Regions from separate parts of the Homo sapiens genome. Here region 2 is linked to region 1. The links are contacts of gene promoters, found by promoter capture Hi-C in blood cells and fetal thymus (Javierre and others, 2016). All regions are on one chromosome and are shown on one strand. The core of a region is centred on a gene start or on the middle of the fragment in contact, and the rest is flanking DNA. Distances in the headings are between cores, read along the strand shown.

Region 1 (2,903 bases), core at 352-2,851:
ATCTGGTCATGTCGCTGTCTTAAGACCCTCTTCTCACCTGCCTCAGTTTTCACACCAGGTCTACACTGCTTAAAGCTCTCCTCACCCTTCCAGCTCCTCCCAACCCTTCACCTTCACCGAGTTAATGTTTACTCATGTATCAGATTTCAGGTTAGACACGCTTCCTCCAAGAAGCTTTCGCAGATACACAAGTTAGTATCTGCCCGTACTTCTCTTACATAATACTCTCTATACTTGTTATTGTCATTTGTTTAGTTTTTATTTAGATTAACTTCCATCAGAAGGGCAGAGTAGCTGCTGTAACTTCAGTTACTATAAATGGGCCTGGCACATACTTTGCACTCAATAAATATCTTCTGAAGTAAATGAAATGAATCAATCTTGCTCCTGGGTTTACGTTTCAGTGATTCAAACGGGCATACTTGGTACACAACGTGAGGTCCTGGAAGGTATAACTTGTGTTTTCATTTTTGAATTTCTAAATTCTAGCAGAGTTTTTGGCACACTCTATGCACCCAATAAGCTATCTGAATAAACTTTTCTTGGAACATGAGTGTCTGAATGTCCTGATAACTCCAACACGTTCCCTTCCTGTAATTCCTAAAGCCCAGGAACACTTATTGCCTTCCATCAGTTAGTGAACTACTGATGCTCCAAAATGGGTCACGCCTCCTTCCCCTCCACACCCAACTCGTTTTGTTTTGTTTGTTTTGTTTTGTTAGACGGAGTCTCACTCTATTGCCCAGGCTGGAGTGCAATGGCGCAATCTCGGCTCACTGCAACCTCTGCCTCCCAGGTTTAAGTGATTCTCCTGCCTCAGCCTCCCGCCCGGCTAATTTTTGTATTTCCACCACCACGTCCGGCTAATCTTTGTATTTTTAGTAGAGACGGGGTTTTACCATGTTGGCCAGGCTGGTCCCAAACTCCTGACATCATGATCCGCCGGCCTCGGCCTGCCAAAGTGCTGGGATTACAGGCGGGAGCCACCGCGCCCGGCCCCACACCCCCAACTCTTAGCCCGAAACTCAGACCCCGGGTTTTCGACTATTAAAAGTAGTCACAGGACCGCGACACTGCACTTCAGCCTGGGCAAAAGAGCGAGACTCCCCCTCAAAAAAAAAAGTAGTCACAGAAAACTGAATTAAATTACTGACCTGAAGTAATCGCAAGCAGAGGCGTCCCTGACTGACTTCTATATCCCTCCACCCCAACCCCCTGGGCCCTGCACAGCGGGTGTCTGTTGAATATTCTCCCGGCTGTTGAGCCCAAACCTGATGAGAGGAAAGGCTCGGCTTCCACTCCAAGCCGAGCCTTCCGCTGTTCTTCTGTCCCGGCCCTTGGTGTCCCCTCACGCGGCCCCATTAGGTTACGCGCCCCCGGGGACTCCGCCGCCGCCCCAGCCCGCGCCCCGCGGTCCCACTCACTGTTCTTGAGGAATCGCTCCTCGTGCAGCACTGCGATGGCGTTGACGCAGAGCAGGGCTGCCTGCAGCAGTGAGTACAGGGTAAAGGCCATGGCCGTCCGAGGCCGCCCCGAAGTCCAAGCGATTTCTCTCCCGCCGCCGCAAGGGACGTGGCGCCTCCACGGCCGGCGCCTTCCTACGGAAGCCGATGGGGCCCAAAACGAACTCTCCGGGAAGCCCCGCCTCCATCTGGCTAAGAACCGCCCCTCGCTGAAGACTGCAAGTCCTGCCGCTTGTCTAGACCGGTGATGTGCAATCAATGCTCTGATGTGGCCAGTGCTGCAGGTGCAAAATACACACCGGATTTCACACACTTGGAACTGGAACAAGGATGAAGAATATCCCAATAATTTTTTTTTTTTTGAGATGGAGTCTGGCCCTGTCGCCCAAACTGGAGTGCAGTGGCACGATCTCGGCTCACTGCAAGCTCCGACTCCCGGGTTCACGCCATTCTCCTGCCTCAGCCTCCCAAGTAGCTGGGACTACAGGTGCCCGCCACCACGCCCGGCTAATTTTTTGTATTTTTAGTAGAGACGGGGTTTCACCGTGTTAGCCAGGATGGTCTCAATCTCCTGACCTCGTGATTCCCCCCTCCTCGGCCTCCCAATAATTTTTAAATGTTGATAACATGTTGAAATGAAAATATTTTGAGGCCGGGCGCAGTGGCTCACGCCTGTAATTCTAGCACTTTGGGAAACCGAGGCGGGCAAATCACCTAAGGTCAAGAGTTCGAGACCAGTCTGGCCAACATGGCAAAACCCTGTCTCTACTGAAAATACAAAAATTAGCTGGGTGTGATGGTGGGCTCCTGTAATCCCAGCTACTCAGGAGGCTGAGAGAAGAGAATCACTTGAACCCGGGAGGCAGAGACTGCAGTGAGCCGAGATCCAGCCTGGGTGACAGAGCAAGAGGAAAGAAGGAAGGAAGGGAGGAAGGTTTCTTGTTTATTTTTAATTATTTTATTTAATGTGGTTATGAAGATACTGTAAATGACATGTGACGCTTGCATTATATTTCTATTGCTCAGTACTGCACTTGATGCTCCCAGGAGATACAGGAGATACTAATATTCCCATTTCAGATTTCAGAATGCTAAAACAAAATAACTGTTTTAAAATTACTCAGTGAGAAACATCCCCTCCTTGACCAAACTCCAACCAAGATCCTCTGAGCCTCTTCTTTTTTTTTTTCCCCCCCCAGGAACAGGGTCTTGCTCTGTTGCCCAGGCTGGAGTGCAGTGGCACCATCATAGCTCAATGCAGCCTTCAGCTCCTGGCTCGAGCAGTCCTCCTGCCTTAGCCTCCTGCTTAGCTGTATGTGATGGTTAAGACTGAGTGTCAACTTGATTGGATTGAAGGATGCAAAGTATTGATCCTGGGTGTGTCTGTGAGGGTGTTGCCAAAGGAGATTAACATTTGAGTCAGTGGGCTGGGAAAGACAG
Region 2 (2,700 bases), core at 73-2,572, 1.0 Mb before region 1:
CTACTTAGCTAGCACACACTACGTTCTCTGTGATTCTCAGTGAGGCAGTTGGTGGCTGTGGTTAAGAAAGTAAGCTCTGCCTGTGTTGGAATCCAACACTGCCACTTACTTGGATGTGTCATCTTGGGCAGGTCACTCTGTCCCTCAGTTTCCACCTTTGCAATTTGGGACTAGTAACGCCATCCAACTCATAGGGTTGTTATGAGTTGTAATGAGGATTCAGTGGATTTAACCCATTTAAATGCAAGGTGCCTGGTATAATAAAATTATTTTCTTTTCTTAATTTATTCTTGTAGTTGGGGATGAAAAACTCGCACTCCTGTAGGCAGTCAGAAAAAATGAGTGAAGTGGGGGAACTAAGGGGCCTGGTCTGAAGGGGGAGACTGATATTTAGGGGAGTGCGGACCCAGTGGTGTGAGATTTTCAGAATCTCCTCTTGACGGGTCTCATCCGAGGTTCCAGCACAGCTCTGTAAAGGTAAAGACCGTTTACATTTTCCTCCTCAAAGCTTTATTATTATTATTTTTCTTCTCAAAACACTGCTTTGCTTTGGGGGAGCGCGGGTCCTTGGCCAGATCTTGAGTCTTGAGATATGTCTTCAGCATCTCCTGCTCCTCCTTGGGAAACGCTCCACCCGCCAGTGGGCCTGCGCCCTCCTCCCCTTCTTCGGGGTTCGGGTCCACCTCGTTTCCCCCACCCTCCCCAGGGCTGACTGCAAATCGGAGGGCGACTGCAGAGGCGGAATTCGGGGCAGAGCGGGGTCTCCCCAGCGGGCCACGTCCCACCAGCAGGTGGCGGTCGATCTGCAAGGCCTGCAAGGTGCCCGGACAGAAACTTGAGCAGATATTGGTGCCGCTGCCCGAGAAGAGCTCAGCCGAGTCTCCCCGAGCCCAGCTATCGGCATCCGCGAAAAAGCGGGGAGAGAAGGGCACGGGCTCTCCGCTGGAGCGACTCTGGGATTCAGACACCGCAAGCTGCTTTCGGAAGGGCTTCAGGAGGGGGTGAGTACTGAGCAGCGCACAGAAAAGGGAGCGCTGTCCTTTGCTGAAGGCATTGTCCTTGGCTTGCATTGAGTGGCTTTCCCACCCCCCGGGAAAGACATTTCGGGAAGGTGACGGTCTCAACAGAAGGAGGGAGCGCGGGAAAGAAGCCCGGGGAGCCGGCGCCTTCACGCCCCGCGGTCTGCAGCGGGAGGAGCGCGGGTTCCATCGCGCCAGATGGCGCTGTCTGGCTTTTCTCGGGCCTCGGGCGCCAGTCTCCAGAGGTCTCCGGCGCAGCTGCCTCTCTAGCCGGCCGACGCGGGCTCTGTGTTTCCGGGCGGAAGTGAGGCGCCCAGCGGAACGGCCTCTGGTGACATTTTCTTGGGGGCGGCGCGGACGACTGAAGGGACTTGGTGGTAGAGGCTGCGGAGGCGGCGAGGTTCACTTTGGTCCCGGCAGGGGCTCTGACCGCGACCCACTGCTCGCTGCCGGGGCTTGTTCCGAGGAGGAGAAGGCGGCGGTGGCCGTCGCGTCCTGAGTCACCGCAGCGGGGAAGAGTCCCGGCCGGGGGTTCGGTGCGTGCCCCGACGGGGCGCGCGCGAAGCGAGCGAGAAGGCACGGAGTCGCCGCGGAGCGCAGGTGAGGCGGGAAGGGGCGCAGGGCCGCGGCCTGGCTACTGGTCGAGTTGGGGGGCCCGGGTTGCGTCCCAGGGAGGGGTCGGGGCGAATCGGAGGGCTGCGGGCCGCGGTGAGGGCTCTGCGGCGTCCGGACGCTGGGGTCCTAGCGGGCCTGGCTGGTGGGCGCCGGGAACTCGCAGCCTGGATTGCCGGCTGACGCTGGGGCATCGCACCTCTCCGACCTCCTTGCTCGTCCGCCGTTGGTGACCCTAGCGTCCTCCCGGCCCGGCGGAGTTGGCTCCGGCACTCCAAGCCCCCAGACGCTGGGGCCGGGTTGAGGCGAGTCCTTTTCCGGGGGTGCTGAGGGGAGGCTGGAGGTGCCGCAGTCCCCGGGCTGCGGGGGGAAGCGACTTCACGGCCCTGGAGTTGTCTTCACGCAACTTTCCGGCTCCTAGGCCCGCGGGGGAAGCAGTGGCGGCAACTCCGCCAGCTCCGAGAGTAGGGGGTCTGGCGCCGACACCTGCCCCTGCAGCGGAGAGCTCCGGCGCCGCGGCCGCAGTGGCCTTGGTGGAGGGAGAAAAGGCTTTCTTATAGGCTTGGCGCCGCCTGCCTCTCGGCGCTTCCACTACCTTCGGTCGGCAGGCGCCTCCAGTCAATGCGAGAGATGTGTCAGTCTCCAAAATAGACCGCTTCTGGGGAGTTTGTCAACTTTATTTCAAAACCGGCGAGGATGTACACTGACGAACCCGTGTTAAAGACTATCGCCTTTACGCAAGCCATTCATTCTCACTTTAAAATTGTCCACCCCCCCGCCCCGACCCCCGTCCCCGGCAGCCCCCATCACAAAATTGATGCTCACAGGTTGAAGTAGAGAACATCGGTACGAGCCCTACCAGATCCTTGAGCAGTTTCTGTTTGGATGGGTTTTTCGTTTTTTGCCTGACCTTTTGCTTTCTGAATCCTCTTACCCAGTAGAATTAAAATCCTACTGATGATACTTCGTCAAGGTTGGACCTCTTAATTACAAAAACATCTGCCAATTTTGCTTAGGCTTTTATTGTGTAGTATTGGGTACATGCTAACAGAATCACTCCCTTTCTTCT

Evidence for each region. The method cuts DNA at HindIII sites, captures the fragments that hold promoters and counts their contacts. A CHiCAGO score of 5 or more calls a contact.
Region 2: a contact is called between the fragment with the promoter of ARK2N here and the fragment with the promoter of IER3IP1 in region 1, in 1 of 17 cell types (naive CD8 T cells). The highest score is 5.3, in naive CD8 T cells.

The regions. Positions count from the first base shown.
Region 1 is chr18:47,174,763-47,177,665 of GRCh38, forward strand. It overlaps IER3IP1 (immediate early response 3 interacting protein 1), which reads right to left and starts at 1,602. Exons shown (of 3, transcript NM_016097.5): 1 at 1,425-1,602. The coding sequence starts at 1,515. RefSeq lists enhancers at 1,511-1,630, 1,641-1,770. The HindIII fragment of the contact is 4,620 bases long and covers 173-2,903 here.
Region 2 is chr18:46,172,712-46,175,411 of GRCh38, forward strand. It overlaps ARK2N (arkadia (RNF111) N-terminal like PKA signaling regulator 2N), which reads left to right and starts at 1,323. Exons shown (of 5, transcript NM_145055.5): 1 at 1,323-1,619. RefSeq lists enhancers at 897-946, 1,267-1,526, 1,557-1,606, 2,207-2,336. The HindIII fragment of the contact is 7,725 bases long and covers 507-2,700 here.